Linked DNA regions of Homo sapiens: regions 2, 3, 4, 5 and 6 are each linked to region 1. The links are contacts of gene promoters, found by promoter capture Hi-C in blood cells and fetal thymus (Javierre and others, 2016). All regions are on one chromosome and are shown on one strand. The core of a region is centred on a gene start or on the middle of the fragment in contact, and the rest is flanking DNA. Distances in the headings are between cores, read along the strand shown. Region 1 holds the start of LINC02521 (long intergenic non-protein coding RNA 2521). Region 2 overlaps GMDS (GDP-mannose 4,6-dehydratase). Region 3 overlaps GMDS (GDP-mannose 4,6-dehydratase). Region 4 overlaps GMDS (GDP-mannose 4,6-dehydratase). Region 5 overlaps GMDS (GDP-mannose 4,6-dehydratase). Region 6 overlaps GMDS (GDP-mannose 4,6-dehydratase).

The links. The method cuts DNA at HindIII sites, captures the fragments that hold promoters and counts their contacts. A CHiCAGO score of 5 or more calls a contact.
Region 2: a contact is called between a fragment that was not itself captured here and the fragment with the promoter of LINC02521 in region 1, in 5 of 17 cell types (non-activated CD4 T cells, activated CD4 T cells, naive CD4 T cells and 2 more). The highest score is 8.3, in non-activated CD4 T cells.
Region 3: a contact is called between a fragment that was not itself captured here and the fragment with the promoter of LINC02521 in region 1, in 1 of 17 cell types (endothelial precursors). The highest score is 5.4, in endothelial precursors.
Region 4: a fragment that was not itself captured here is called in contact with the fragment with the promoter of LINC02521 in region 1 in 1 of 17 cell types (M1 macrophages); the score reaches 5.4 in M1 macrophages.
Region 5: a fragment that was not itself captured here is called in contact with the fragment with the promoter of LINC02521 in region 1 in 4 of 17 cell types (naive CD4 T cells, fetal thymus, total CD8 T cells and 1 more); the score reaches 5.6 in naive CD4 T cells.
Region 6: a fragment that was not itself captured here is called in contact with the fragment with the promoter of LINC02521 in region 1 in 1 of 17 cell types (M0 macrophages); the score reaches 5.5 in M0 macrophages.

The regions. Positions count from the first base shown.
Region 1 is chr6:2,632,400-2,636,122 of GRCh38, forward strand. LINC02521 (long intergenic non-protein coding RNA 2521) reads left to right here and starts at 2,101. Exons shown (of 3, transcript NR_149119.1): 1 at 2,101-2,356. It overlaps LINC01600 (long intergenic non-protein coding RNA 1600), which reads right to left and starts at 2,204. Exons shown (of 3, transcript NR_131168.1): 1 at 2,166-2,204; 2 at 1,206-1,393. The HindIII fragment of the contact is 1,903 bases long and covers 929-2,831 here.
Region 2 is chr6:1,642,256-1,645,978 of GRCh38, forward strand. The region is part of intron 9 of GMDS (GDP-mannose 4,6-dehydratase); the gene reads right to left. Among named protein-coding and RNA genes, the nearest start is that of FOXC1, 34 kb to the left of the region's middle. RefSeq lists an enhancer at 1,642-2,589. The HindIII fragment of the contact is 5,748 bases long and covers 1-3,723 here.
Region 3 is chr6:1,678,298-1,682,020 of GRCh38, forward strand. All of the region lies in intron 9 of GMDS (GDP-mannose 4,6-dehydratase), which reads right to left. Among named protein-coding and RNA genes, the nearest start is that of FOXC1, 70 kb to the left of the region's middle. The HindIII fragment of the contact is 2,467 bases long and covers 533-2,999 here.
Region 4 is chr6:1,697,848-1,701,570 of GRCh38, forward strand. The region is part of intron 9 of GMDS (GDP-mannose 4,6-dehydratase); the gene reads right to left. Among named protein-coding and RNA genes, the nearest start is that of FOXC1, 90 kb to the left of the region's middle. The HindIII fragment of the contact is 3,394 bases long and covers 1-3,371 here.
Region 5 is chr6:2,095,080-2,098,802 of GRCh38, forward strand. The region is part of intron 4 of GMDS (GDP-mannose 4,6-dehydratase); the gene reads right to left. Among named protein-coding and RNA genes, the nearest start is that of GMDS, 150 kb to the right of the region's middle. The HindIII fragment of the contact is 3,211 bases long and covers 411-3,621 here.
Region 6 is chr6:2,111,997-2,115,719 of GRCh38, forward strand. The region is part of intron 4 of GMDS (GDP-mannose 4,6-dehydratase); the gene reads right to left. Among named protein-coding and RNA genes, the nearest start is that of GMDS, 130 kb to the right of the region's middle. The HindIII fragment of the contact is 2,706 bases long and covers 579-3,284 here.

The sequences.
Region 1 (3,723 bases), core at 851-3,350:
GCCTCACAGCCAAACTGAGATCCAGACCCCAGAGAAGCCGCGTGAATCAACAGCAACTCTGCAGCCCCCGACCCCAGCCCTGGCGTCCCACTCACTGAGGCTCTGGCCAGGTGGCGGTGACTCAAACCTTCTCCATTTTAACTTGGCATCTCAGAGCTTCTGGACAGAGTCCACAAATACATGAGACAAAAATAGGCCAGCATACCCTCCCTTGCCAGGCCCTCATTGTTGAGGGATGAGATGAGGGCTGGGCAAGCGGTTACACAGCCGAAACCAGGGCCCTAGAACCCAGCTCTGCCAGCATGGGCGCCCCACAGCTCTGCCCACAGCGTCTGCTCTTTATTCTTGGTTTCTCCTCTCCTTCTCTTCCACTTCCCATTCTTTGTGATCCATCTTTTTCCAAAAGTTGACAGGTTGGCTGGAGACAATTCCCCCTGCCAGCTTTTCTGTCTTTTCCACCTTTAGTTTAAGTTGTCCATGAGGGCTGGTGATCCATTTTCGGTCCTCCATACCTTCCTGGGCAATCCCTCTGGGCCCTCACACCTCCACGCCCTCCACCCTCCCAGCTCCTTCCTCCCGGGGCCTCGAGCTTTTCCCTTTTTTCATCCTCTGTGCACTGTTTCACCCCGACATGTATGTTATTGTTTGACTGTGGCATCAGCCATTCTTGGAGACTTTTCCCAGGGCTTGCAATTTTGTAGCAGAGAGAGATTTTCTATCTAAAGCAAAATGCTGGTCTTGTTTAAATAAATAATAAGATAAAAGAATCAGGCACTGTAGGGGTATTTGGCCCACAGCCATCCTGTCTCAGCAGGGTCCTTTTCATTGAGGGAAGCATTTTTCATATCCATAATTTGCCCCTTTCTCTAACCCAGGGTGCACGCTGCCGTGGCCCTTGGTGACAATGTCCCCTGTGGCCTTCCTCCAAAGCTTGCTCCAGCAAGCTCTGACATGGTGTCCTCCCTCCCCTTCTGGGCTGCGGCTTCTCCAACCTCCCCCAGCTCCTGCAGACAGAGGAGAAACAGCAAGTCACAAGATAAGACAAAGACCCTCTAGGCCAGGCCACTCCTCGCTGCCACTCTGGGACAGCAAGGCAAAACGCAGACGGCCCCAGCTCTGGACGCCTCTCCTCCTCTGGACCCTAACCCTAACCCTAAGCCACTGGAACACTCACGGGAGAAAGCTGGACCTGCTTTGAGGCTCACCTCCCTGCATGCACATCCATCCGGCTTCTCTCAAGAAGCAACCTGGTGTCTGAGAGCCGTTGAGTCTTCATCCCAGCTCTGGTATTTCTCTCATGTGGCCACATAACCTTGAATGTCTGACCTTCAATTTCTTCATCTGTACAGTGGTGAAGATGATCCCCACTTTGCTAGGTTGTTGTGAGCATTACCTAAAAGAAAATAGGTGCTATGGCGGCATGTTTGTTGAGCTAGGAGGACTCGGAACAAAATTAGCTTCTGCACCGGCTGTGCTGGAGCCAGGCAGGCCGCTCCGGTGTGGCCCTGTTTTTCCTGGTTTGTGTCCCAGGAACCTGCCAACCCTCATTGTCCCGGATTTTCCCTTTGACTCCAAAAGCCGTGTCTTTCTTATCAAGCCTCTTTATTTTTGTTATTATCCCGTCAACATACTCCCCTCTGATTCGCCCCCACTAATGACTCGCGCCCTTTCCAAAGTCCCAGCACACCGCGCTTATAATCTCTTTCAGCTGTCCTTAAAAAGGTTCTATTTGTCCCCTCCGCCCCGCTCAGGGGCGCCCGGACTCTGGGGCCCGGCCTTCGCGGGCTCCCGGGTTCCTCCCATCGCTTCCCTCACAGTCCTGGCCGCAGGGCAGCGGGTTTCGCACGGGAGGGAAGGTTTGGATGGCTAACGCCCAGGGTTGGTCTTCCCTGTGTCTTTTATGGGAACACGTTCCTGCCTGCGCCCCACGGGACAGAGCCGTTTTCCCGCCCCGCCACGCCGCGCCCGCAGGCCCCGCTGCCCGCAGCCTCTTCCCGACGCCCCAGGCCGTGCGCCCCCCCGAACCGGGCCCACCGCGTGCTGTGCGGGGCTTCCGCGCCTGCGCACGAACGCTTCTGCGAGCTTTCTCGGAAGCAGCTGGGGGGCGGGGAATCTGCTGAGGAACGGCGCTTTATAAATCAAAAGATAATAATAACAGAGCTTACGGTGAGCACCGGAGGCTGGAAACGGGGTGGCATCCGCTCGGGGCGGGGCGGCGTCGCCAGCGAATGACAACACTGCCCCCTGGTGGCCGATGCGGCCAGGCCCGAGAGAGCGCAGGCCGGGTGCGAGCCAGGCTTCCTCACCACGCGGCTTCCCCACTCATCCCATAGAAACCGTAACTGAGCAAATGACGGTAAGTCCCCAGGAAGCGTTAAGGCCAGGAAGCAGCACAGGAGAAAAACCCGAATCCCATTTTTTTAGAGTAGGGATTTATTTGTTGTCCCCAGATAGCAAGCTGAATTTCTGAATAGTTCAGAGCTCACAAAAGAAGCCAAGACCTTTCAGGGCATTTTATAATGTTGCTTTTTATAAACAAAATATTGAAACCACTACTATCACTGTCACTGGGGGATTACTGTTGAGCAGAAATGCTTGTGAAACTCCCAAAAGAAAGGGTCGTTTGTGCTTCTTTGGCATTAAGTAAAAATGTCCTGTTTGGTGTGTACACGTTTTCATATTTAATTATTCACACTGTGCACTTTATATATAAACTCAGCACTTAGGTTCTCTGTGAGCCAGAAACCTGGCTTCTGTGCTCATCCATAGACCCAGTGAGAGTGTAGAAGCCAAGCCTGGTGGAGCCTGTGTCTACCAGGGCATTGCAGTAAAGCTTCTACCACTCACTGTAAATACCTCCCATCGAGGCTGAGGAAAAGTTGTAGCATACTTGGAAATTGGGGTGGAGTATTGTCATCCAAAAAGGCATATTTCTTTTGGTGTTTTCCATACCCGGCTGTGTCATTGTGAAGCCTCAGCTCTCCCAATCTCCCCATAAACTGGAGGAATCCTAGTGTTTCCTGTCCTGCCACATTATGTGTGGGGAAGATTTTTTTTTTTTTTTTTGAGACAGAGTTTCACTCTTGTTACCCAGGCTGGAGTGCAATGGCGCGACCTTGGCTCACTGCAACCTCTGCTTCCTGGGTTCAAGCGATTCTTCTGCCTCAGCCTCTGGAGTACGGAGCTGGGATTACAGGCACCCGCCACCATGCCCGACTATTTTTTGTATTTTTTAGTAGAGACCGGGTTTCACCATGTTGGCCAGGCTGGTCTCAAACTCCTGACCTCAGGTGATCCACCCGCCTCGGCCTCCCAAAATGCAGAAAGAGTCTTAAGATGGATTTTTAGTAAGTACTTCAAGCGGCTTTATGAAAGCTACCGTCAGTAAAGTAGAAAACTATATATGCACATATTTAGATATGGAGCTCCCACGGAGGAAGTGCTCTGACAGGTCAAATCTGCCCCCAAAATAAGTTGATAGAACTTCAAGGAAGCATGAAAGCGGCCTTGCTGTGCATTTCATTTTATGGAGCGTAAGTGCCTAATAAATGAATGTGTGGGTCTGAAGAAAGTGATATTTTCTAATGAAGTTATAAGTGTCGCAGTCCGGAAAAGTAGAACCCAAACAAACACAAAAAGGAGCGTGCAAGGCCCACGCCGCGCTGCACAGACTCTCCCCACCTGGTGAATGCTGACCTGGGGCCAGGCCACAGGCAGGGAGAG
Region 2 (3,723 bases), core at 787-3,286, 990 kb before region 1:
TCCCAGGTTCAAGAGATTCTCCTGCCTCAGGTTCCCAAGCAGCTGGGACTACAGGAATGTGCCACCACGCCCGGCTAATATTTTTGTGTCTTTAGTAGAGACAGGGTTTCACCATGTTGGTCAGGCTAGTCTCAAACTCCTGACCTCAAATGATCGGCCCACCTCGGCCTCCCAAAATGCTGGGATTACAGGCGTGAGCCACCACACCCGGCCAGTTTCCGTCTTTAAACCTACCCCAAAGGTTCTATAACTGTTGCTCAGATTTGTCTGAAAATTTTGGTTTTGTCAGGGAGAAAATAAATTTCTCCTTCAAAATCTCCACCTTCCCCCTAAGGTGAAGGTCAACCTGGTCTTTGTCCTCTAGGTTGGAGAACGGGGTTCCATGGTGACCATCGTCCTGAGTCCTTATGCATAACAGACGTGGAGTAATATTTTGACTTTATAAAGCCTGCTTCATGATGGCTTCTTGTGTCTTTGTGAATAGCACAGGTGGGCAGCTGTGCTGGTCCCATGTGGGCGACAGGCAAGCTGGGCCTGGACGGTCTGTCTCTCCAAGTCCAACAGGAAGATCAGGATGGGCCTCGGATCTCTGCTCCTAAAGCCGGGCCCCACGAAGCCCCTTCCCTTTACTCCTTATGGAGTCCCCTTCCTCACTGAGTTTTTTCCCCTATTTTAAAATAGCTCTTCACAGAGAATCTTTGGGGGCTTTTAAACAGCCCTGGTCTTAGCAGAGTTAACACAACCACATCATGAGGGATCTGCTGACGAGGGGGGCATCCTGCAGAGCCGGTCCATACTTCCTTTTATTTTCTTATCCTGAGTCTCTTCCCCTGAGTCTCCCCAGAGAAACTGGTGATTCTCAACACATCCTGTGGAGTTTGTGAAAAGTGGAGCTTGGTGAGGTCCTCAGCCAGGTGAGATGTGCCGGAATCTCCAAGGGTGCCCTCATAGAAGGTGTCTGAGGATTGATTCACCAGACCAGACAAGTGTGGGGGGCAGGGACAGCATCTCACTCAGCTTGGTGTCCCTGAGACCCAGCCCATTTGGCAGGACACACAGGCATTGTAAGGAAATGCAATTTCCTTACGCCTTCCTGAAAACGAACCCTGACTGCCCACGGGGCAGCTGAGCCCCCGAGGCTCTGTTGCTGCAACTGTGCTCATCTCCAGGTGGCTGTCAAGGTGCTCATGCCTTCCTCGGCTCCCATGGCATAAATGAGGCAAGGAGAGCCTTCGAGAGTCCTTTTAGTAGAGTAGGATGTGGTTACCAGGGCCTTAGGCAGTTGTGGGGATGCTGGTCAAAGGATACACACCTATAGCTAGGTGGGGACAGCGGAAGTTCAGAATCAGCAGATGCATAGAGACAGGGGTGGAGAGGTGACCACCTGGGCCACGGTGGGGGGGACACTGGGGACTGCTAATGGTTATGGAGTTTTTGCCTCCGGTGATGAAAATGCCCTAGAGTTGATTGTGGTGATGGCTGCACACTGAGCAGACTAAAACCCATTGATCATATACTTTAAGTGGGTGAACTGTATGATGTGTGAATTATACCTCAATAAAATTGTTTAAAAATTAAAAAAAGTTGAAAGTCTCTTCCCAGCTCCCCTCCCCTCTAAAAAAAAAGTCCTTTTAAAAACCCTGAGAGGAAACAAAGGAGCAAAGCACCCTGCAGGTGGGCCCTCTCTAGAGGCCAAGCCTGACTCCTCAGCTGACAAGGCTCCCAGGGCGGACGGCCCTTACCCAGCCCCCGTTGTCCCCAGACACCTCCCCTCTGAGCCCCAGGGCCCAGCGCTGTGACTGACATTGCCCCGTGTCCTCGGCCTGCTCTTCTGGCAAGGAACCCCCGGTCTGAGGTAGGTCAGCACGGCACCTCAGCCTGCAGATACTAGTAGCCTGCAGCCACCAGTATGAGGATCCACTCTTCCTCCAGGGACCCACGCGGGGAGGGCCCTCCACCGCCAGGGGAGACCCCTGATTCCACCCGAGCGAACGTGTGAACGATAGCGGATGGCACTGCAGCTGTGACTAGGGCCTGTCAGGTGGACTGCAGATTGCCACCTGGAAGCCCTCTGCTGGGCATCCAAACCTGCCCTCAACACAGCCAGAGCCTTCCTGCCTTCCTGTTGGCGTCTCACCATTGCCATAAATAGGCTGCATATGAGCCGCTAGGCTGCACTCCCCACAGGCTCAAAACTTTGCTGCTGCCTGCACTTTGCTCCTGCCTTTCTCACCACCTTGCACTTTTTCCTCCCTTCCCAAGTTCCCCAGCTGAAATTCTCTCCACTTTAGAAGACCAAATTTGTGCTCTAAGTCAGCCAACATTTCTCAGCATCTCCTGTCGGGAGGAGCCAGGTACCGTCCCACAGGGAGCTGCTCTAATCCCTGCTGCCCGCCCAGGAAGGAGATCCCAAGGTCCCTGATTTATGGCGAAGAGGAGGGACTGTGAGGTTTTCTGGTGACCACAGAGCCAGGGTTCACGGCCACCCCCACTGCCGTTTCTTGCACCTGTACTGTGAGCCTTGCACCCACTGCAAGCTCTGACAGCTTTGGCTCTCAGGGCCTGGCCAGCACCTACATTCTGCAGATGAGGAAGCTGAGGCTTAGTGAGTAACTTGCCCAGAGTCACGAGGTTAGGAAGTGGGGTGTATCAGGATGAGATTCAGACTCTGGTCCTTTTTTTTTTTTTTTTTTTAAACGAGACGGAGTCTTGCTTTGTCGCCCAGCCTGGAGTGCAGTGGCGTGATCCTGGCTCACTGCAACCTCCACCTCCCAGGTTCAAGCGATTCTCTTGCCTCAGCCTCATGAGTAGCTGGGATTACAGGCATGTGCCACCACGCCCAGCTAATTTTTGTATTTTTAGTAGAGACGGCGTTTCACCATGCTGGTCAGGCTGGTCTCGAACTCCTGACCTCGTAATTCACCCACCTCGGCCTCCCAAAGTGCTGGGATTACAGGCATGAGCCACCGCGCCCAGCCTGCTTGATTCTTATACCCTGTCATCCAGCACACTTCCTTCCCCAAACTGAATGCAAGCCCCCCATGGGCAGAGAATCTATGGTGCCCATTTTCAGTCACCCGTGCTGTGCCTAGCATAGCTTCCTGCACCCATCAGCGCTAAAATATCCCACGGATGCTGTCTTGATGGCAGAAGGCACTTTTCAATCACTGTGCAAATGGCGCCTTCTACCCCCATGATGGCATGTGCACGGCATGCTCGAGTGCCCGGGGACGCTCACCCTGTCCTCCTGGAGGTCCGGAGCCCTCGCCTGGTGTTCCCTGTGCTGTCCTTGCCTTGCCTCACTTGCTCTTTTCCTCCCACTCTCCGGGTCCAACCTTGGCTTTAGTGTCTCTGCTTTCTGCAGGCTCTCCTGGGGCGGGCCCCTTTCTGCAGACAACTTCAACTATGGCCTCTATGTGAGGACATCACTCTATCTTCAGCCTTTGCCTTTCTCCTGGATTCCAGGGCTGCATTCTTCTTTCCAGCCTGACAACTGCAGCCAGTGCCCATGGCCACCGCAGCGTCACCCTGTCTACAGCAAGCATCTCCTGTGAGAAGTCTCCACATGCAACTTCGCTTCTCTCTAGCACAGTGTCCCTCTCATTTCTCTGAGGACTTGTTAACAATCTGTGGTTATTTTGCCAATCCACCCACTACCCTGTCGTCTGCCTCCCTAGAACATCAGTGCTGAGTGCACTATATGGACCTCTGTCTTCAGGACCT
Region 3 (3,723 bases), core at 516-3,015, 950 kb before region 1:
ACACCGCGTCTGTAGCCCTTAGTCAATCACCCTCCCAATGTTCCCACCCAATGCTGGCTCCAGTGGCAGCTGCTGCTCCTGGCAAGCTCTGATTCTTTGTATCCATCGATCTCTCAGATTTGAGCAGCCTGGTTCCCTGGTGACCTTGATTCACTAAAGGAACCAGGAAGAGCTGCTGATTTTCAGTGTGTTTGGCTTTCTTCTTGTTGTGGGGGCTGAGTGACAACTTCCTTGCTCCTTACAAGTTGGGCTGGAATCAGAAGTGAGTTCAATGGACTTTTATTTTTTTTTTTCTCCTCAACTAAATGCAACTCAGATCAACATGGAAAGGTAACACGTAAAGCAGGGACAGTGGCAAAAACCAGACAGGATGCCGGGAAGAATATTTTAACTTAAGATTCAGTCAGAGATAAAAGATTAAAATAAACTTTGTAATTATCTTTCCACATGACACATTTATAAATTCCTGTAATTTCCTGTGCCAAAATATATTTTCAGGCATCTCTTTTGATCATTTAAACTTATTTTTAAAAGCTTTACATATTTCCTTTTACACAAGTAATGGAACACAGACCAGTCAGCTGTATTGCTAAACATTACAAGGATATTATTACTTGTTTTAAACAAGTACCTGCCATAGCACATTCTGATATCTGGAATATGATTCTGACAGCAAAGCAAACTGACTAAATGAGTCCCATTTACTGAAACGACACTAGACAAAACTGCTTCTCAGATTTATGTAGCTCCAAACATGTGCATGCGTACAGAGTCCTCTCTCTCCGCACACACACAGTTGTTACGCACACAATGGAAGACATCACTGTGCTTGTGAAACCTGTGTTGAGAGCAGACAGATGGCGGTTATCAAATACTTTGGCACTCATACACAGGAGACAGTTACATCTCAGAGGAGTGTAACTTGTGTGAAGGCTAACGCTGGCACTGGATCCAAACCTGTGCAAATAGCCCTGTGACACCCTCTTCTACTGAAATATATGAATTGTTTTAGGCCATCGGGGTGGGCTGGGAAAGAGTTTTAAAATATAAATAGAGACCAGGACAATGACTATATTTATTTAGAGGTGACAACATCCTTAAATAATTTAGGTCAGCTGACGCAAGCGCTGAGAAGCTGAACAACTGGCATGGTGCTCTATCTTCACTGCCAGGCCAGGCAAGGGGGCCCCAGCTAATGCTGCTCCGTGCTGATCTGCTCTCTGCTCCTCATACCTGTTGGTATCGACCTTGTAAGAAGGTTCAGATCCATGAGTGGCCCGTGATGACTGAACACTAAATGGATGTTGGGAGAAGCTCATCTCTCTGTGGATGCTCTCTACTCACGCAGGCCACCTCGAAGGAGAAGTCTGATTACTGCAAGTTGTTACAGTTCAGTGTATACGATATTTTGATAATACACAGAGAGTGTTTCATTGCAGTCAAATAATATCTTGAGCTCTCACAACAGCAAACTTCAGGAACTTCAAAGGAATTCCAGTCCAACTGGAACCGTCATTACAAAACAAATCTTAGCTTTATTGTTAGCCAGACCACAAAGGGGCAGAGACTGTGCCAAAGTAAATGCTCTTGAGATCTCTATATATTACCTTTGAACAATTAATTGGTCTCCTGGAGACAAGGAAAAAAAAGGAAAGAAAACAAAATAAAAGATTGACAATGAAATATATTGTTCTTGGATGTCACAGCCTGGATAAGCCATAGCCACATTGAACAAATACCTGCCAAATTGATCATTAATTTCAACTAGTCTGTAATTTCACACATTAGGCTAAGTCTTGTACACTGAAATTACGCGCACTTTGTAGATGATATTTTCAGCTGGTCACAAAGAGGAAATTCTACTGCCTAAGAAAATAGGCATCCAGATATTCAAAGACCGGGCCTCAGAGGTGAACTTCACTTATATGAGGCATTTCTCTGTGCTACCATGAATTCTTGATGTGCGCCCTTCATCCACCTGCTTCCTCGTGGCACCTTCCAAACCATCCAGACATGACTCTAAGTCATCAGGTTAATGAACAGGACAGGCAGAGAGCTGAGTGGCAGTAAATAAACAGGGCCTGACCCCTATCAGAATTTAAATGTTTTGGGATCCTGACCCCAACTATCAGCATTTGCCAACATTGCTAGTTCTCCTCTTATACCTCTGCCTTCCAAAGTACCACACCAATGAGGGTGCAGGCCAGGTGTTAGTTCTGATCCGGCACCGTGACCTGACTTCTCACACGGAAAGCAGCGTGGACCTTCTGGCCTCCCTCCCTTGGGCGCCCGGCCAGGACACGCAAGGTCATACTGCTGAGGCCCTTTGAGATCCTCGAGTTAAAGGGGCCCATAAAGGCAAAGTGTCATGAACGGCGTATGTTCCAGGTGCATCACTTGAGCCGCCAGAGCCACATAATGGTTTGCCTGGTAAGTGCCTTTGCCCAGCATGTGCCCATTGAACAAACCACAAAAAGATGACTGCAAAGGGGTCTTCTTATAATAGGGCCTGGTGCCTGGTGGATGCCCAGAGCCCTTGCCATTTCTGAAATGGACATAAGTGACCTAAAAGGCAGCTTTTCATGACAGGTTACCCTGGATGATGTTTCCTAAAGAAAAGTCACATCAGTGGGTGAGACAGAATGTAACAACTAGTCTGTTCTCTCTCACCGTTCACATTTACTGTTGCCTCCTCGGCAGGGAGGATAAAAAGAAAGAAGTAACACAAATATACTCTCACATACATCGAATATACATACACATGCTCACACATACACACACAAGTGCACAACACACTCATACACATACGTACACCTACAAATACACACACTTACAGATACACACACCTATATACACACACACACACCTCCCCCACCGAGAGGCGATGAGCACAGGGCATGTGCCAATGCAGAAGAGGACTGTGTCTACACACCTGCCTCCTCACAGTGTCCTGCCACCCTGCCGCCAAGACACGCTGGTACTTGTTGGGCTGTGATAAAAGCTTCTGCTTGGCTGCCATGGGTGACATCTTACTACAGATTCTGTTACATGGTGGGATATGTCACTGCATTTTCAATCTGCTGTGTTCTAGCATCTACAGTCCCAAAATGGCTCAAGAAGAAAGTGGTCCTACAGAGGTCAGAATCTGAGGTTGTAAGAAATTATGAAAGCTCTGCCATTCAGGACAAGATGGAAATCAGTGTGGCTCCAGGTGAGGAGGACCAGGCGGTAGACCCAGGCGCACAGTGGGAACAGTCTACGACTGCCAGGGAAGGCCTCCGGTGGAGAGTGGCATCCGCCAGCTCCCTGGCAGCCCCAGGCAGAGAGGCCAGGGGATCTCACCAGCAACCCCCACCATAAAGTGCTGGAAGGTGCTAAAGAGAATGCCGTGAATCTGATTTTCAAAACACCACTCAGTGTGTCTGTGCAGAAATGCACTAAGGCTGGAGTGCAGTGGCACGATCACAGCTCACTGCAGTTTTGACCTCCCTGCACGCTGGTGATCCTCCCATTTCAGCCTCCTGAGTAGATGGGACTATAGGCACGCACCACAGTGTGCGGCTAATTTTTGTATTTCTTATAGAGACAAGGTCTTGCTATGTTGCCCAGGCTGGTCTCAATTCTTGGGCTCAAGTGATTCATCTGCCTTCGCCTCCCAAAGTGTTGGGATTACAGGCGTGAACCACTGTGCCTGGCTTTTTTTTTTTCTTAATATGGAAAGAT
Region 4 (3,723 bases), core at 425-2,924, 930 kb before region 1:
CCTCCATTTTGGATTGCTCAAACTGAACGGGGAAAATATGATGGAAGCACTTCCTGCTCTCTTGTTCCATGGGAATCCAGTATGGCTGCGGACGATCAAGGTTAAAGTATCTCCGTAAAGTAACACACTGACAAGAAAGGCACCTTTAGGGGAGTCAAGCATATCATTTCATCTGTGGCCACATGTGAATGCTAGCTATGTATATGTTCTAAAAAGCAAAGAGTAGACAAAGAGGAGCGCCGCCCAGCCTCCCAACACCAGAGTCTCACTTCCTCTCCTCAGCTGGCGCTCTGGGGCCGGACTCCAGTAATAACAGCCTCCTGGGGAGATTAAAGCCCTGGCAAGCACAGTTTATCTTGGTGAATGTATACTTTAGCTTTGTGTGTATCTACACATATACATACACTGCAGTATTTATAGCTGGTATACATGTGAGGTAGCGCTGGAGACAAGGCCTGGAATGGGTGTACAACACCTATGAGGTTGGAACCAAGATCTTTTAAACGCAAACCTGGTTTCCCTGAACTGTCCTCCACCCGTGTGGTCCAAACACACACTCAGGTGTTTCGGGAAGAACATCCTCCCTCCCTGCAAATAGGGGCAGCAGTCTTTCTTCTGTTTCCAGAAAGAGTTGAGTATTTTGTGGTGGCTTCTTTCATCTCTGGGGACTTTGCTTATTAGAAAAATACACAGAATCACCGCTCTCCCGAGTAAGGAAATGAGATGGCCGGGAGGTGAGCTGAGTCAGGACCGCTGCTTTAAGCCAAGTCTACAGGGTTGGTATTGAGGTGGAGACGCTTCTCAGAGTGCAGCACAGCCCACTCTGAGAAGGGCAGGCATGGGGGCCATCCGGCCCCAGTGCCCACGTGTGCGCGACCCTGGACAGAGGGCGGCCTCCAGTGGCAGTGCTGCTCTGTGGCACACTGAGGCCTGGTTTCCCTTTTTTTTTTTTTTTTTTGGTGGGGGCACATATTTCCTCAGGAAGGAGCAGATAAGTTCCTCCTTAGGCTTGTGAATACTTTCTTGTCACCTGGCCAAATGGAATTCCAACGATATTGTGAAGAGGCAGTGCCACTTCACAGCAGACACTCACAACAAGCCACAGTCATGGGGTGGTCAAAACTCCCAATCTCCATTTTCATGCAAAGCTGAATGGGCAGCTCAGACCTTTAAAAAGTGTCATGAACACATAGGTCCTCTTAGTCTCTGTCTACTTGACAAGATCTCTTAGTGTCCATGTGTGATAGAACAGCACATGCCTACACTGTGTGGAGTGAGGGGCTGCCAGAGCCACACGGTGTAGCCTTCTGTCCCCCATGGAGGCATGGGTGAGAGGAGAGACACAAGACAGAGAGGAAGACTGCACATCAGGCTGCGGAAATGAGCTTGAGGGTTTATGTTTTGAGGTTGCAAAGAAAAGAAGAAAAATAAGGAAGATGGGGGTGGGGAGAAAGAACAAGCTGGGTGAGGGGAGGAGGAGGGATGTACAGGAGATGGCCTGAGGCAGCCAGGAGGGGTCTCCAGGAGGGCCTAACTGTGGAGGTTGCTGAGAGGCTAGAGGGGAGAGGCTGGAGCCAGTCCAGCCTAACACATTAACGCAGGTGTAGGGGTTTAAAACAATACGTGTCGATCCTCTTACGTTCTTGGTGTGGGCAGGGCTGGCTGCCTCTAGAGGCTCCCGGAAAGAACCCGTTCCCTTGCCTTGTCCAGCTTCTAGAGGCGCCTACACCCCTTGGCTCGCAGCCCCTTCCTTGAATCACCCTGACCCCGCTTCGTCTTCACTGCTCCTTTTCTGACTCTGACCCTCCTGCCTTCCTCCTATAAGGACCTTGTGGTTACCATTAGGGCTCCCTGGAAAATCCAGGACCATCTCCAGACCCTTCACTCAATCCCATTTGCAAAGTCTCTGGATTATCATGTAAGGTGACATAGCCACGTATTCTAGAATTAGCATGGGGACTTCCTTGGGGGTGGGGACATTCTCCTGTGTGCCACAGAGATTAGGATGGCAGCACGCCGTCTGCTGTGACTCCTCCCTGGCACAGCTGAGGGGCACACACAGCCTCCATACGCAGAGGCAGCTGGCCTAAGCCCTGGGGCTCAGCATCTCACCCATGTTCTCCAGGCCCAGGTGAGGAGAACAGCAGCTCACACGTGCAGAATGTGAACATTCTGCAAAAGGGAGATATTTTTGCATTCTTTTTCTATAGAAGAACCACCCCCTCCGCACCGACACCAAAGTGTATGAGCTCCCACAAAAGTTGGATCTGTCCCTGCATACTAATTTTGTCCATCTATTCAAAGTGCAGGGAAAGGAACATTTCTTTAAGGAAAAGTCTTCATGCTTCTTCTAATTTATCTGTATATGAGAATTTTTTAAAGTATTATTAGAAAACTTCTCACCTTTATTCTCAATTACTCTGCGAAAGTTTTTATTTTTACTCTGGATTTTAAAATATGCTTGTGGGGAAGAAATCTACAATCCCTTAATTCCATTTTCATATAGTCACAAAATCATCAGAAGAAAATGGAATTTTCTGTTCAGATTAAATACAGCTCCTCAGTACCACTGAAAGCAGGAGGGAAGGGAGAGCCTGGGGCAAGTTCCATAGACTCTAAATTACTAGCTTCTGCAAATCATTAGTTTCTCCCCTGGGAGAAAAGCAGCTCTACAGTCTTCTGGTTCCGAGGCACCCTCAGCAGAGTCAGGAGCTGCACGGCCACATTTTAAATTCTAGTGGGCACAGCTAAAACAGGATGAACCGAAGTCGGCCTGAATATTGGGACACTGATTTGAGGAGAGAGATGGCAACGTGGGACAACAGCATCTGATTTTGATGTCTTTTGTCTAGTGATGTCCTATGCGGTGGCAAGAAAGAAGACTGCAGGTGCCAGCACACCTCGCGCTGTCCCTCCTCGGGCCCAGCACTGGGACCTGAGGCTGAGCAGTCCACCTCCACCAAGAACAGGAATGCCTGACACTCAAAGGCCATCCCAGCCCCAGTTCTGGAAATCCGAGACCCTAACTGTACTTTAAAAGATAACTGACAGACAGGTGGCAGGAGTCAAGAAGGGTCAGTCATAACTTATCCTATTCGTAAATCATAACAGTGAAGTGCAAAATCCCAGGAAGCCAGCTCAGGCTGATGATGCCGCCGGGGTGACAAACCAGGGACTAAAAAGTCTGGGTTCAGGAATCTTTAGGTAATTAACTGTAGAATGACTAGATACCCGCCTCCCATATTTACAGCGCATGCCTTTGCTAAACCCATTTGCCCTCCTTCATTTCTTCCTGTCTCTCTGCCTCTCCCTCCCTTCCCTTAGCGTGGAGTACATCAATCTGTCCGAAGGGATAAACTATATTTGTGTTAAGCTTTCATTTATAATTAACCAGCTGACCCCAATTCCACACATAAATGGCACTTATTATTTAAAAAATACAGGCTACATTTCTTTCATTGTTCACTGTGTCATTATGTATACATAATGTTTCCTTCCCATAGAGAATAAAATAATGACCAAAGTTCTGTCCTTCAACCCAATGTCTCCACAGTGTGTCTTTCCACCCTTGTTAAACACTGCCTGCTTACATGTTTTCAAAACACATGACCCGCATCTACTCTGACACTTTCCCATTCATCGACAGAGCAACTTCAGTCCTTAATTAGGGCAGTGTTTGAGCTTAAAGGCAAGTCTGTACAATTGAAAAGGTGCATATTCAAA
Region 5 (3,723 bases), core at 766-3,265, 540 kb before region 1:
ATATAGCACAGAATGCCGTACATATTCTCATATTCTATTATCCCCAAAATCAGGTGGTACCTTACAATCGCAGTCGGCCAGGTTGCAGTGGTGTAGTTGTCCTTGCCTGATCACGTGCACACCTGATCATCACTGTTAATGCCAGTTACTTGAGTTAAATAGTGCATGCTTCAGGTATTACACATCTTAAGCTTAATGACACTATAGTTCAGTAATAAAAAGTTAAACATAGAAAGTAACTAAAATACTCAGTGGGGCACAAACTCGTATTAACTTAAGAACATCTGCCACTTGACGGATGTCTACAATTCTGTATTTTCCTGCAAAGTAATCAATTCATTTTGCTATTTGTTTTAGACATATACACAAGAGTAAAATGATACAAATCCATGTCTCAATAAATCTAAATAAGCTTATCAATAAGTATAAAATATTAAGAATCTCAGTGGTGAGAAAGAGTTGAGTCATAGTTTAATCAGAAGAGCTTGTGCTTTCCTAATGGTACATAAAATAATGATGCATCTGAAAATCGGTGTTGCAGAATCAGTGAAATACAGAGTGTTTCTTGCAAATGTGATGTAGATTTCATAGACAGAGCACTTTATTTTTAATCTCTCTTTAATATACGGGAATCTTAGAATTGCAGAGTTGGATGAAACCTTGGAAGTCATTTGAACATAAACTCAATCTAGCATATAAACCCTTTCAATGATATATCTAATGTGCTGGATGACAACTTTTAAAGAAGCTGAAAGACATCCACCAATTGTGGAAAGTATGCTATCCAAAAGAAGAATTCTCAAGTCCCCTCAAAAAAGGGGGAGAGAGGTTTGACCTCAATGAAATTTAAGATTTACGTTCTGTGAAGGACATCACAGATAGAGCAAGCATAGAAGTGACAACTGGAAGAATATATCTGCAACATATATACCTGATAAAAAGTTAATAGGAATTCCTACAAATTAGCAATAAAAACTGAATGGACAAAGGATAGGAAGAGGCATTTGACAGAAAGAAACGCCAGAATTTCTAAATCTATAAAGTGAGTTCAACCCCATTATTAATTAGAGGTACAGCTATGACATTATATAACTCTCCTCCAGTTTGCAGAGTAAAAGGGTAGATCTTAATTTTAATGATGTGAAACAGAAAGTTTATTAAAAAGAGGCGTGAAATGAAAGAAGTAAATATCCATGTGATTTGTTGTTATACATCCAGTGTCTTAAAGCAGGGACCTGTACAGAGAAATAAACTATATTTTATGATTTCCAAGTAAAAACATATATATTTAATTTGTTTTTATTACTAGAATTTGTTTTTGTTTCAGAAAACAACATATTTACAAACTTGAACACTGTTTAAGCACAACCTAGTCAGGGAAACATTCACCGTGTCTATTTCAGAAATAAGACACTTTATGTTAACTAATGTAGTGGAAAGGACTACATTAATGATTTGCCATTTTAAGGAGCATGACAAGCTAAGTAACAGCTGTCAGTAGGTCAAACACAATTCAATCGGCATAGTTAGTTCCAAAAAACATTTAAATAGGTTCTTTAGCTGGGAAGTCCACATATTACTCAGTAATTCTAGGACTAATCAAAAGCAAATAGAAAAAAACAATTCTCACTAGCTTGGGGTCAGTGAAAACCTATTTGACCTATGCCAAAAAGGGAGGTTCTCCATTCAAACAGATGGATAAAAGCTCCAAGTACAGTTATCTCACTAAAATTCCAAACAAGTCACAATGAACACATGACTTTATATTTTAGTTGTGTGTACGTATATTACATGTATGTGTACACAGACACATCTAGAGACTAATTAAGTTAGTGACTGTAAATTTTATATATAAAAATGCCCATATATTTAAGAGTCAAAGAATAGTTGTCTTTTTTATATAGTCACTAAAGACAGATATATAATATGTATATATACTAACAGACAATGTGAATTCAACAGGTATCATTTTAATGATATCATGCTGTACAAAAATATAAAGAAAATATATTTGAAAAGAAAAAAAAAGTTTGCAAATTCCAGGTAATAAATGAAAAAATGAATTACAAGAACACCCAGAAACCCAATGGAAGCTGTTACAGATCACTGAATTTTTGGAATCTAAAAACTCTGTAGTTTTATATTTTATTATTGTAGATAATTGTATACACAAGCCCCCACAGAATAATGCCTTGTCTGTTGTTCTTGAGAGAGAGTAGAACAGATGGCTCTAGTCAAAGCCCCTCGGCGACTGAGCATTATCACCTATCTAGGGAAGGAGATGGTGGTGCGGGGGTGGCTAAAAGGAGGATGAAGGCTTCTGGGAAGAGAAAGAGGGTGCAGCTTAAGTAGAAAATGGACAGCTAAAACGACGAGGGGTGAAACTGAATGTAAATTATGCCTGGCTTTAAATATAAGAGTTTTAATATTTTATTAGTAATAAATCCACTGTTTTCCCCCCTTAAACTGCTGTCACACACATGCTAGTGGCCCTTGACAAATGCCTGAAATCTTTGCCATCATTATTACACAGGAAAGGCTTTGAAAGAATTCCAAGCAATCCATCCATGTCATACTTTGACAAAGCAAGGGAGAGGCCACGGGAAGAAGAGCTTTAGCTCCCAGTGAAGAGTTAAGAAAGTGAGCCTTTACTCTAGGCTCCAGTTCCGCCCTAAAACCTAGCTGTTTGACTGTAGAAAAGACTAGGATCTTCTCGTAGCAAGGCAATTACCAGTCTACATGGTTAGGATAGTGACAAACAAAAGAAACATGTCAAATAAATAAATGGTTACCATTAAATAGAATTTATTTGCAGGTACTTTCTAAATTTAGTACGACTATAAAAACAAACAAAACAAAACAACTTTCAAACTACCAAAGCATGTGAAAACAAACTATAAAGCTGTTTCAATGCTCCCTTATGTTTTAAGAAAAAAAAAAAAACTAAACTGGGACAATAAGAAAATTACACATAATATTATTATTATTATTTTTTTGAGACGAAATCTCTTTATCGCCCAGGCTGGTGTGCAGTGGCACGATCTCGGCTCGCTCACTGCAACCTCCGTCTCCCAGGTTCAGGTGATTCTCCTGCCTCAGCCTCCCTGTAGCTGGGATTACAGGTGCCCACCACCACACCCGGCTAATTTTTATATTTTAGTAGAGATGGTGTTTCGCCATGTTGGCCAGGCAGGTCTCAAACTCCTGACCTCAGTCGATCCACCTGCCTCAGCTTCCCAAAGTGCTGGGATTACAGGCGTAAGCCACCGCGCCCAGCCACATAAATTATTTTTATAATTACTCTTCAAATAAGGAAAATTTAGTAATAAAGAAAGTAATCTACTTGAAATATTTTTAGCTATCATAGATTAACAAGGATAAACACCAATCTAAGAATTTGTACGTAGTTTATAACTTTATTTAGAAACAAAATCTTAAATCCTTATGGTAATTTCATAAAAGGTAGAAAAAGTCTAATTTTTATACGCTTAGTTGAGAAACACTTAAAGCAAACCCTGCACTGAACTGAAAATTTCCACAAGACATATAAATAAACTTATAAAAGCTCGGAGTAAACCTCTTAGGAATGTCTTGATTGGGGTTAAACTATGGCTGATAATAAGCTTAAAAAAACTAACTTAGGAACAAGTTTGCCACCTTGACAGTATGAAATGCCACTAAATTGAAAATGGAATCTGGATGGCTTTAAAATAATTGAATCTA
Region 6 (3,723 bases), core at 682-3,181, 520 kb before region 1:
AGTCTGTGATCACATGGCGCCATCATCCCAGGCCCCTTCCCCACGCCCGCTCTGGCCATGACGAAGCCTGTCCACAGATCACAGCATAAACAGTGGTATGGAACAGGGATTTCGAAGGACATTCTAAGAGGAGCTGTTCATACTAAGTACTTGAGAAGTATTTATTATCTCAGACTATGTACAATTCAGAAAAAGAGGTTTCTGAATATCAAGAACTTTGATACAAACATATATCATATTCGCTTTCCATTCTTATAACTCCTGACTGCAGACGTAGTTTTGGGCTTTAAAAGCTCATTAAGTCATTAACTAGTAAGTAATAGGATTATTTTACATCAAACTCAAAAACCTATATATTAAAGGCAAAGGTCTAAGAAGAAAGCATTTAAGGAACATATTCTATTTGGATAAACCAAGAAACCTGAAACACTAGAACAAGGGTTCTCAAAGTGCGGTTCCCAGACCAGGGACAGCATCATCTGGACACACCCTAAAAATGCAAGTTCGAAGACCCCACCCTAGACCTAAAGAATCAAGGATTCTGAAGAGAGGCCTGGCAACCCACAAATGATGCTACAAGCTTTACCCATCATATTCTCTCTTGTCCCTCTACATAAAAATTTCTGGAAAAAAATGCATTCAATTTGCATTTCCCTTATAACCTCTCAACTTCTAAACCCCTTGCACGCTGGCCAAGTTCTTCTGTCACATCACTAAAATGTTTCTTTAAAACGTCACAAATCCTCGCTGGCCTAACTGGCAAGGCCGGTGACTTTTCCTGGTCCTCATTCTCCTAGCCTCATCCCCTCTTGCTTGCAATGACCCAATTTCTTGACTGCCATGGCACAATCCCACCCTCTGCCTCCTCCACTTCAGTCATCAGCCCTACTTGTCCTCATCCCACCCTCTCACTATCAACCTGTTTCCAAGATTCAATCTTCAGTCCTCTACCCGTCTTTCTCCAGTTACTACTTGGCATCTTTAAGACCTCAAGAGCTGAATATACAGCTCTGTACCCTAGATCTCTCTCAAAACTCACAGCATATTTGAAGCTACCTTATAGCCTGCTTCCCTTGAATGTCCTTCAAGTAACGCCAGTAAAATGTTTCCAAAAGGGAACTTATTTCTCCAACCCCACTCCAAAAGTTCCTCCTTGAATGTCGGTTTCTAGTACTGGTTCTATTGACCTTCTGGTCCCCTGGGCACTGGAGCCCTGGGTTTCCCTCTTCTCTAGTGACCACATCAGTGCATAGAGAAATCAGCCCCACCTGGCATCCTGTTTCATTCCTCACTCCCACCCCCATTTCTAGTGACACCATCCTCATCCAGCAACTTCCTAGCTCTTCTTAAGCCCTACCTCTAGACTCTTACCTCTAGAAGTCATCACTGAATATATCTTCCCCCGTTCAAAACATGGGTAGCTGCCCAGGCACAGCCCAGCTTCCTACCTGACCTTACCTCACACTTCTCCTCATACTGGTTCTGCTCAGCTCATCTCGAATGCTCATGATGCTGCAAACATGTACCAAGTTTTCCCACTTCTCTTTGCCTCATATTATTACCCCCGTTTCAACTATTAGTTTCCCGCTACGTCTGTAACTCTGTAACTGTCCTCTCTATACCTCAACACCAGAGCCAGTGTCGGTTCCGCCTCGCACTATCCATCTACCCCCAGACGGAAGTTCTCTCTTACCCTCCTCTAAAGAGTCAGACACTTGTGCCAATCACCCCTCCTAGAGTTGAAACCCCCACAGCAGAGGTGTATCTGACACAGCTTTTCGTACTGTACCATGCATGACACCTTGCATGAGGTATGCACTCAACAAATATTTGTTGGAAGATTAAATGACCTTACAAACCAAAATTCTCACTGAAGAGTGCCATTTCCGCCCATTAACTAACCATTAAGAAAAGCAGCCAAAATACCATAAAAAAAGATAAACTTCACATGTGTAGCAATGTAGAGGGAACCAACTCAATAGCCTATGATTTCTATTACTTACAGTACAACCACACCAGAACGATAACAAAACACTATCATGATCACTACAACTAAGAAAACCAACTATAACATATTTCTGAACTATAAATATGTTTTGGGGAAAGGAAAGAATCAGCCCATTTAATACTAAATGACAAGGGGAAGGTCTTCTATAAATAAACCTTTATAAAAATTTTCTGCATCTTTCATTACAATTTTCAGCTCCTAGAGGTGATAAACTATCTATGATTACAAAGGAAACTTCTTAATCTAAAGGAAACTGAATAACAGAATGTTCATTCCAAAACATTCTGTTTTGTCTGGAAGATACTCTCATGGCTGGTCAGGAAGGTCAAGAAGCAGCCAGATGACTTATAATGTGGAAGATAGACTGACTACCTCAATTAGGGAAAAATAAAGTCTTCATTCCTGGAATGATAAAAAGTCACCGCTTCTCTATAGGAAAGAAGGGATGTAATTTCTCAAGCACACAGTATGCATAAGAGACTTTCCAAAATGAAAAAACACATGGAGAATCATTTAGAAAAATAGCTAAGCTGTAACCTAAAGACCCTGATACCTTTCACAGACTTTGGTGAAAGTCTGGATATAGAACAGAATCATCACAGATTAAGAAAAGAAAAATGTTTCTTCATAGACAGCACAGGCAGATATGAGGTATCATCATTCATCGATATGTAGCCATCCTTCAAGGTTAACATTTGAAAGAAATACATATAATGAAGACTGGCAATCAGTTATAAGATTGAGTTTATTGCTATGTTTCTCTCACCATGTTCTCCACTTGGTTTCATTTTATCTAGTTCATGATTTCTTCCTTAAACAAGCAGAGGTATATAGAATAGGCATTTAGCTTCCATTCTATGCAAACATGGGGATACAGAAAAATAGCCAATCACCTAAGAAAAACTTTCTGAAATAAGACTCCTGTACTTGTTCATTAAATAGCAAAACAAACAAACAAACAAACAAACAAAAAAAAACCTCATACATTTTCTGGACTTTTGAGGGGCTTTTATAACTTAAGAGTTACTTGCTTTTATTTCTCAGGTCCACTAACCATCCTGTCTGAACAAGTATCTAAATAGAACTCCTATCATTCATGGCTTCAGATTTCACTTATTCATGTGAGCAGGAGGACACGGCAACAAAAACTTGAATTAAGCAGACCACTAGAACCCTAAGGATGGGCCTGTGATGTTTACCGTGATTCCTTCCAGAATGCGAATAGAGGGGAAAATCCACACTGGCTATATCACACTGAGGAGGAGGGAGACTAAAAAGCTTTCTTCCAATGATTTTTACCATTCACAATTAAAAAGTTAATTCAGCTAATTTTAACATATTATTGGGACTCAAAAATATTCTCTCAGCCAGTAATTTAGCCGCTACCAAAAATTGATATTAACATAAAGGTTTTACTTAGTTACATCTTCCAACATTTTAACAAAACATTTAATTCACAATCTGTTATTTGAAATGGCAGAAAACACATCCATGGGCCTCATGGCTACAGGGAACAACCCAAAATAAACAAATACTGCTATTCCAATATTAGTGGTAAGGTTTTATTATATTGTTTAATAACAGACAAGAGACTTTTAAAAAATCTATGAGTACTTCAATTAGGATTAATACTTAAACTAACACTGACAATTCAACTTGAAGACTAAGACCAGTGATTATATTACTACACTGAGAAGCAGCAGACACAAGTAAAA